Linked DNA regions of Homo sapiens: regions 1 and 2 are each linked to region 3. The links are contacts of gene promoters, found by promoter capture Hi-C in human tissues and cell types (Jung and others, 2019). All regions are on one chromosome and are shown on one strand. Each heading gives the region's core, a stretch centred on a gene start or on the middle of the fragment in contact. The rest is flanking DNA. Distances are from core to core; before and after follow the strand shown. Region 1 holds the start of NOVA2 (NOVA alternative splicing regulator 2). Region 2 holds the start of PGLYRP1 (peptidoglycan recognition protein 1). Region 3 has its middle 48 kb from the start of PNMA8B.

The links. Contacts are between HindIII fragments. The study calls those that stand out against the background at their distance.
Region 1: a contact is called between the fragment with the promoter of NOVA2 here and a fragment that was not itself captured in region 3, in 3 of the 25 tissues and cell types used here (aorta, dorsolateral prefrontal cortex and mesenchymal stem cells).
Region 2: a contact is called between the fragment with the promoter of PGLYRP1 here and a fragment that was not itself captured in region 3, in 2 of the 25 tissues and cell types used here (aorta and dorsolateral prefrontal cortex).

What each region holds. Positions count from the first base shown.
Region 1 is chr19:45,972,442-45,975,141 of GRCh38, reverse strand. It overlaps NOVA2 (NOVA alternative splicing regulator 2), which reads left to right and starts at 1,277. Exons shown (of 4, transcript NM_002516.4): 1 at 1,277-1,875. The coding sequence starts at 1,791. RefSeq lists a silencer at 952-1,111. The HindIII fragment of the contact is 35,305 bases long and covers 1-2,700 here.
Region 2 is chr19:46,021,759-46,024,476 of GRCh38, reverse strand. It overlaps PGLYRP1 (peptidoglycan recognition protein 1), which reads left to right and starts at 1,424. Exons shown (of 3, transcript NM_005091.3): 1 at 1,424-1,742. The coding sequence starts at 1,456. RefSeq lists an enhancer at 1,931-2,718. The HindIII fragment of the contact is 20,258 bases long and covers 1-2,718 here.
Region 3 is chr19:46,542,712-46,545,411 of GRCh38, reverse strand. It overlaps the pseudogene PPP5D1P. Among named protein-coding and RNA genes, the nearest start is that of PNMA8B, 48 kb to the right of the region's middle. The HindIII fragment of the contact is 3,360 bases long and covers 1-2,700 here.

The DNA.
Region 1 (2,700 bases), core at 28-2,527, 570 kb after region 3:
TGCGTTCTCATCCCAGTTTCTCTCTCTCAAGCTGTGTGCCCTTGAAGAAGCCACCCTCAATGTTCCCAGGCCTCCACTTTGTCATCTGAAAACAAATTTTTCTTAATGACATGAGTAGTAATACTGTACAAGGGCCAAGGCTGTTTTGTTCTCTATTGTATCGCAGCATCAGGGACAGTGCCTGGCACTTAGTAGGTAGGCCCTGAGTGCTGTTGTTTGAATGGAGAGCCAGTTGTGCCCCAGGGCAGGTGCTGCAGGCTGCAACTCCAGCTCAGTGAATTCAATCCTCTGAGCCCTTTCAGCATCACGGTGTTGATTCTTCAAAGGATGGATGAAAGATTTGAAGGGGAATTTCCCAGCTGAAAGGATTGAAAAAGAGTGAAGTGAAATTTCTTTCTCTTTCTTTCTTTCTTTTTTTTTTTTTTTTTTGAGACAAGGTTTTGCTCTGTCTCCCAGGCTCGAATCTAGTTGCTTGATCATGGCTGACTGCAGCCTCAAACTCCTGTGCTCAAGAGATCCTCCCACCTCAGACTCCAGAGTACCTGGGGCTACAAGCATGTGCTACCACGCCTGGCTAATTAAAAAAAAAATTTTTTTTTTGTAGAGATGGGGTCTCACAATATTGTTGCCCAGCTCGTCTCAAACTCCTGGGCTCAAGTGATTCTTCCGCCTCGGCCTCCCAAAGTGCTGGGATGACAGGCATGAACCACCGCGCCTAGTCGAAATTTCTTGTCTTGACCAAGTGAAGTCAAAGTAAGCTCCTAAGGCTGTTTCCTCATCTGTAAAATAGGGATAATAAGCGTAACTCACAGAGCTGGTCGCTCTGGGGAGTAAATGCGATAACGTCTGTGACGTGCTTGCTTGGAACCGGACCTGGCACACAGTAAGTGCTCAATAAACGTTCATTCAAGGTGAGGAGTGGGGACGGCTTGGAGGAGCCCGGGGTCCTCCCAGCAGCCTGGGGGAGTCGGGTCCAGCTCTCTGCCGCCGGGAGGGGCGTGGCCAACCCAGAGGGACGTGGTCCAGGCTTCAAGGCTGGACCAATGGGGGCGCCGAAGGGCGTGGCCCTACCCGGCATGGGCGTGACCTCGTTGGGTGGGAGGGGCCAGGCGCTGTGGGAGCCTCCGGGAAGAAGATGCTCGGGCCAGCAGCCACCGCCAGCCCCGTCGCCGCCGCCGCCCGCGCCCGCCGCCCCCCGGGCCCCCACTAGCGGCCGCCTCCGCCTCCCACTCCGGCCACGCTCCTCCGGCCCCCCACCCCGAGCAGGGTCTGGGGGGCTCGGCCCTCTTGCCCCAGGGAGCCAAGAAGAAGCGGGGAGTCCCGTCCCCCCAGTGGCGCGTCCAGTCCCCAGCCTCTGTGGTCCCAGGAGAGACCCCACCTCTCAGTTCTTTCCCGGCCCTATCGGAGACCCCCCTCGGCCCTGCCATCCTGCTCACGGCCGCTCTCCAGGCTCTGTCAGCCCCCCGAGAACCGGCTCCCCCCTACCCCCGCCTTCCCTCTCCGGGGCTCCCCCTCCCCCATCCCTCCACCGCCCCCTCCCCCTCCCACCTCCCCTCCCCTCCCCCTCCCCCGCCCCCCGCCCCCCGCCCCCCCCCACCATGAGGATGATGGCCGCCGGCGCGGTGCACGGCCTCTTCACGGCCTCCGCGGCCCCGCAGCCGCCGCCGCCCCCGCCGCCGCCGCCGCCGCAACCCCAGCCTCCCCAGCAGCCGTCGCCGCCGCCACAGCAGCCGCCGCCGCCGCCGCCGCAGCCGCCGCAGCAGCAGCAGCCGCCGCCCCAGGCCCCCCCCATGGAGCCCGAGGCCCCGGATTCCCGCAAGAGGCCCCTCGAAACGCCCCCCGAGGTGGTCTGCACCAAGCGCAGCAACACGGGAGGTGAGAAAGGGCTGCGGCTCGGGGCGGGGGAGCGGGCAGGGGGCCTCGCCTTTCTCCATCCTTTCCCCCCCTCCCGTGGCAGGTGCAAGGGCTCTGGGGAGGGGAGAGACACCCCTCCCCGAGGCGGGGGACAGAGCGGGGAGTTGAGGAGGGGGCTGGACCCCCTCCTCCTCTCGCTGAGGCCCGGGGCTGGGAGCTTTGTCTGCGAGGAGAGGGGTGGGGGGGAGGGGGTGATAAGTGTCCTTGGGGGGCGCAGAAGATGGGGGGCGTGGGAGCCTCAGGGCAGGTGTCTGTGTGTCCTTGAGGGGTGTGTGATGTGACCCTTTCGGAGCAGGGGTGTTCCCCGAGCTCGCGTGTCCTGGCTGGGGGAGGGGAAGGAGTAGAGGCCTGTGGACCGGGAGCTTCCCAGCCTCCCTCCCTGGGGATGTCCTGAACAAGGGTTGTCCCAGATGGAGGCTTGTGTGGCCCTGGCCGGATCGTGCGTGGGGACAGGCTGGGTAGGTGTGTGGGGTGAAATGGAGGAAATGGTGGGTGTGTAAAGCTAGGTGGGAGAATGTGAGGCTAGGACAGGTGTGTATGTGTGTGCGTGTGTGTGTATGTGTGCCCTCTACAGCCTGGATGTGTGACATTAGGGATCAGGAATATGACAGCATAGGGGGGTGTATGAGAAAGACAGGGGACAGGGGCTGGGCTCCATGTTTGAGACCCTCCAGCGGGTACGTGTGACAAGGAAAGGTGTGTGCTTGTCACCCCCAAGGGGGCTGTGGCAGAGTGTGACACATGAGAGGGTGTGTGTGACATGCAAGGAGGTGTGTGGGGGACACC
Region 2 (2,718 bases), core at 175-2,674, 520 kb after region 3:
TAAAAGATCCACAATGCTGAACTGATACTATAGCATATTGTGCAACTATTATAAAGAATAAATTAGAATTAGATGTACTGCCCTGGTGAGATGCCCATGAAATATTAGGTGACAAAAGGTAAATTGATGCACATGGTTTTGATTTTTTTTTTTAATGTCCTTATATAAGTTTGTAGGGAGGAGAATACGGTTTATAACTCTGCAGGCAGAAAGCCTGTAGCCAAACCCTGGCTTCATCACCTCCTGTATGTGATCATCCCCCCGGGCCTCAGTTCCGTCAACTGTAAGAGGGGTTAATAATAACATGGATCTGGCAAGCTTGTCGTTGAGTATATGATAATTTCTGAAAAGTGCTACAGATGCCTGGTGCACAATTCAGTAACAGCATGAGTACAATGTATATGAGAAGGCAGAACACAGAAGATGAAAACACACCACACAGGTCAGGCACGGTGGCTCATGCCTATAGTAATCCCAGCACTCTGGAACACTGGCAGGTGGCTCACCTGAGGTCAGGAGTTCGACACCAGCCAGGCCAACATGGCAAAACCCCGTCTCTACCAAAAATATAAAAATTAGCTGGGCGTGGTGGTGTGCACTTGTAATCCCAGCTACTCAGGAGGCTGAGGCAGGAGAATCACTTGAAGCCAGGAGGCGGAGGTTGCAGTGGCCCAAGATCGCACCATTGCACTCCAGCCTGGGTGACAAGAGCAAAACTCCATCTCAAAAAAAAAAAAAAAAAAAAAGGAAAATATTATTTATAAAATAGAAAATTAAAAAAAAAATTTTAAATACACATTTTTAAAAACCACTTGCAGGCTCTCACACACTGCATATCCAGGATTCACATGCAGGCAGCCTGGCTCTAGACGCGGGGCTCCAGTGCCTCCGGTGTCTCAGCCCGTGACTTCCCTGCTCTCAACCTCAGTTTACTCCACTGTGAAATGGACTTCCAGATACTCACCTCTTGAGTTTGCTGCAAGCGTAAATGGCATCAGGCTTGGACCTGGGGGAAGGAAGTGTTTTTAAAATGGGTAGCTTTGTTACCTCAGTCCTTGCGGGGAGAAGATGTGCCAATGCCCCGGGCCTCTGCGATGTAAGTTCCTGTTGAGTTGTTCAATGTTCCACTGAGAGGAGAGACAAGCAGGACCGGGATCCCGGCCCCGGGTCTTCCAGAAACGGCGGGGCGAAGCGCCCAGGGGCCTGTGCGTCCCTCCCTGCTGAGCGAGGGGGCCTGTCATTGCCGTGGGCGTGACCCAGACCCCAACCACAGTGCATCCCGCCCTGGCCCAGCCAGAGAAGGAAGCTGAGTCTGGGGTCTGCTGGGCCAGCAGGAAGTCCCAGCAGGGTGTGAAGCAAGACTTTCCGGGCCACTCCTGGAATCCCCCAGCAGATAAAGGCGGCCCCTCCACCGGGCGCTCCTAGCGGTCTCCCGGACCCTGCCGCCCTGCCACTATGTCCCGCCGCTCTATGCTGCTTGCCTGGGCTCTCCCCAGCCTCCTTCGACTCGGAGCGGCTCAGGAGACAGAAGACCCGGCCTGCTGCAGCCCCATAGTGCCCCGGAACGAGTGGAAGGCCCTGGCATCAGAGTGCGCCCAGCACCTGAGCCTGCCCTTACGCTATGTGGTGGTATCGCACACGGCGGGCAGCAGCTGCAACACCCCCGCCTCGTGCCAGCAGCAGGCCCGGAATGTGCAGCACTACCACATGAAGACACTGGGCTGGTGCGACGTGGGCTACAAGTGAGTGTGGCAGGGGGGCACGGGCTGGACTGGGGATCCCAGAGGCAAAGGTGTGCAAGTGCCCGCCAGCGGGACCATTTCTAGGCCTGGTGCTGAGGCCACCTGGCTGACACCCTGAGCAGCTTACTGAACCTCACAAGGTCATTTCTTCCTCGGGTCACCACGTGGGCCGGGGCAGGTGCTCACAGCACAAAGATGCGTGAGAAGGGGGGATGGGCTGAAATCCAAGCCCCGCTCCCGCTCCCGGGAAGAAGGGGCAGGCTTTGCCTAACACACACCAAGGTGTCCGCGACGCCTTATGAAGGCGCCCCTTCCTGATGCCTGGTGCCTTTGTTAGGAGGCGGAAAACCAGGCTGACTCAGTGCGGAGCTGGGTTCCAGGGTCAGCTCATCTTATTGCTGGCTGAGGCCTGGGGCGGGTCCTCCCGGCTTCAGCTTCCTCCTCGGCAAAGTCAATGGAATCGCGGCCCATCTGCTCCTTATATGAGCCAATACAGGCAAAGCACCTAGGAACTGCCTGGCACACGGGGGCCCGCAAAGCCACGGGCTATTACCATTAGGCACCTACTATGTGCCAGGCAGTGTGCCAGATGTGGCATGGAGAACGGTGCCACTCTAGCCTCCTGGGGTTGAAAGACCAGCAGGGAGAAACAAGCCAAGGCCACAGGTGAATTCAGACGGTGATAGAGGCGATGGATAAAAGGAAAGAGGTGAGGGAGGGTGACCTCAGGCTGGGACCAGACCCACACAGGCTCCTTGGAAGGGTGGGGCAAGGGAAAGCCTCCCTGAGAGTGGCTGCCTTGGCTCTGGGATGGGGGAGCAGACAGAGGCCTGCAGGTGGCAGGGGGTGCTGGGGGCAAAGCCAACGGGGTTGAGTGGGCGGGTCCTGTGGGAAGGACAGGGTGGCTGAACACAGCCGGGCGAGCGGAATGAAATGAGGAAAGGGCAGGACCAGGCAGGGCTTTGTGGACCACAGT
Region 3 (2,700 bases), core at 169-2,668:
CGATCTCAGTTCACTGCCACCTCTGCCTCCTGGGTTCAAGCGATTCTCCTCCCTCAGCCTCCTGAGTAGCTGGGATTACAGGTGCCTGCCACCATGCCCAGCTGATTTTTGTATTTTTAGCAGAGATGGGGTTTCACCATGTTGGCTAGGTTGGTCTTGAACTCCTGACCTCAAGTGAGCCTGCCTCGGCCTCCCAAAGTGCTGGGATTATAGGCACGAGCCACCACACATGACTCAAAGGCTAAACTCTTGAGAGTGGGCCATGCTGCCCCAAGAAGCTCCACTGGATTTATTTGAAGGTCCTTGCCAAATCAGTTGGGGAAAAAAAGGCAGATTCAGCCCATGGATCCTTAAGTACCACTCGAAGAGTGGCATGCTTTTCCCAAATGTCACCTTTTGTCTTTAAGGCAAAGGTGGTGCCAGATCTTCAGCTCTCATGTCTCCTGCACAAACTCTCCCAGGCGTGAGAAGAGACTCCACTCTGCAGAAACTCTGTCTCTAAGGGGGAAGTGACAGTCAGAGAAGGGAACAGGGATATTACTGAGGCCAGAAGGCCCCTCTCCCCTCAGTGAGGCCCACGCTCGTGCCCAAAGCCTGTCTGTCTTCCTAAATAATGCAGTGTGGAAGAGTAGAGGCTTTGCAGCCAAGCAGACAGGATTTCATAACCCTGGTTCCAGTACTTCCCAGTGTGTGATCTTGGACCATCAACTGGGCCTCTGAACCTCAATCTCCTCCTCTATAAAAGTGGCACAATGGCCGCAGGCGGTGGCTCACGCCTGTAATCCCAGCATTTTGGGAGGCCGAGGTGGGCGGATCACTTGAGGTCAGGAGTTTGAGACCAGCCTGGCCAACGTGGCGAAACACTGTCTCTACTAAAAATACAAAAATTAGCCGGGCGTGGTGGTGGGCACCTGTAATCTCAGCTATTCAGGAGGCTGAGGCAGGAGAATCACTTGAACCCAGGAGGCGGAGGTTGCAGTGAGCCGAGATAGTGCCATTGCACTCCAGCCTGGGCAACAAGAGCAGAACTCTATCTCAAATAAAACCCAGAAAACCAAAAAAAAAAAAAAAAAAAAAAACCCAAAACAAAACAAAAAGAAAAAACAAAAACAACAACAACAAAAAATGGCACAGTAATAGCTTAATTCCCAAGCTTGTTCAGGATTTTGTGGGTCAGGAATGTGAAAAGGGTTTGACTGGATGTTCATTTCTGTTCCACGTGGCATCATGTGATGAGGGCTGGAGGACCCACCTCCAAGATGGCTTCTTCACTCCCATGTCTGGAAGCTTCAATTCTCCTGGGCCTTCTCACAGCTCCATGCTCTTAGGGGAGCTGCAATTCTTTTTTTATTATTTATTTATTTATTTATTTGAGACGGAGTTTCGCTCTGTCGCCTAGGCTGGAGTGCAGTGGCCGCGATCTGGGCTCACTGAAAGCTCCACCTCCTGGGTTCACACCATTCTCTTGCCTCAGTCTCCCGAGTAGCTGGGACTGCAGGCGCCTGCCACCACGCCCGGCTAATTTTTGTATTTTTAGTAGAGACGGGGTTTCACCGTGTTAGCCAGGATGGTCACGATCTCCTGACCTCGTGATCCGCCGCCTTGGCCTCCCAAAGTGCTGGGATTACAGGCGTGAGCCACCGCGCCCGGCTGGGGAGTTGCAATTCTTACACAGTAGCCTGGGAGCCAAAGAGATCACGACGGAATCTGCTGGTTCCCTTAAAATGTAGATCCAGGCCTGGCGGTGTCACTTGTTTGTTTGTTTGTTTGTTTGTTTAGACAGGGTCTCGTTCTGTCACCCAGGCTGGAGTGCAGCGGCGCCATCATAGCTCACCGCAGCCTCTACCTCCTAGGCTCAAGGGATCCTCTTGCCTCAGCCTCCCGAGTAGCTGGGACTACAGGTGCGGGCCACCACGCCAGCCTATTTTTAAAAGTTATATTTTTGGCCGGGAGTGGTGGCTCACGCCTGTAATCCCAACAGTTTGGGAGGCGGAGGTGGGTGGAAGTCGGGAGTTCAAGACCAGCCTGACCAACATGGATATACCCTGTCTCTACTAAAAATACAAAATTAGCCACGTGCGGTGGCGGACCCCTGTCATTCCAGCTACTCGGGAGGCTGAGGCAGGAGAATCGCTTGAACCCAGGAGGCGGAGTCTGTGGTGAGCCGAGATCACGCCATTGCACTCCAGCCTGGGCGACAAGAGCGAAACTCCGTCTCACAACAAAACAAAAAAGTTATTTTTAGTAGAGTTGGGGTCTTTCTGTGTTGCCCAGGTTGGTCTTGCAGTCTTGGGATCAAGCGATCCGCCCACCTCTGCTTCTCGGTGTTGGAATTACAGGCGTGAGCCGCCATGCCCAGCACAGTGTCACATCTGTCATATTCTATGGGTCAAAGCAGTCAAGGGTTCTTTCTCAATCAGACTAAGACCAACAGGAACAAGCTTATTGTATTAATTTGCTAGGGCAGCCTTAACAGACAAGAAGGGAGGTGAGTCGCCTTTTAGTTTAAGTAGATACGGTCATGCTATTCTCTAATTGGCCACCAGATGGCGCGCTGGACTTACTATTAGTACAGTTTGTAATTGCCCTTCCGAGAGTGGCCACCGCCACTCAAGCGACTGGACACTGGACTAAGTGCTTCTGTTAATTTGGATAAGACAAGACTCTCACTTTCTTTGATAAAATATAAATCTAGAAGAG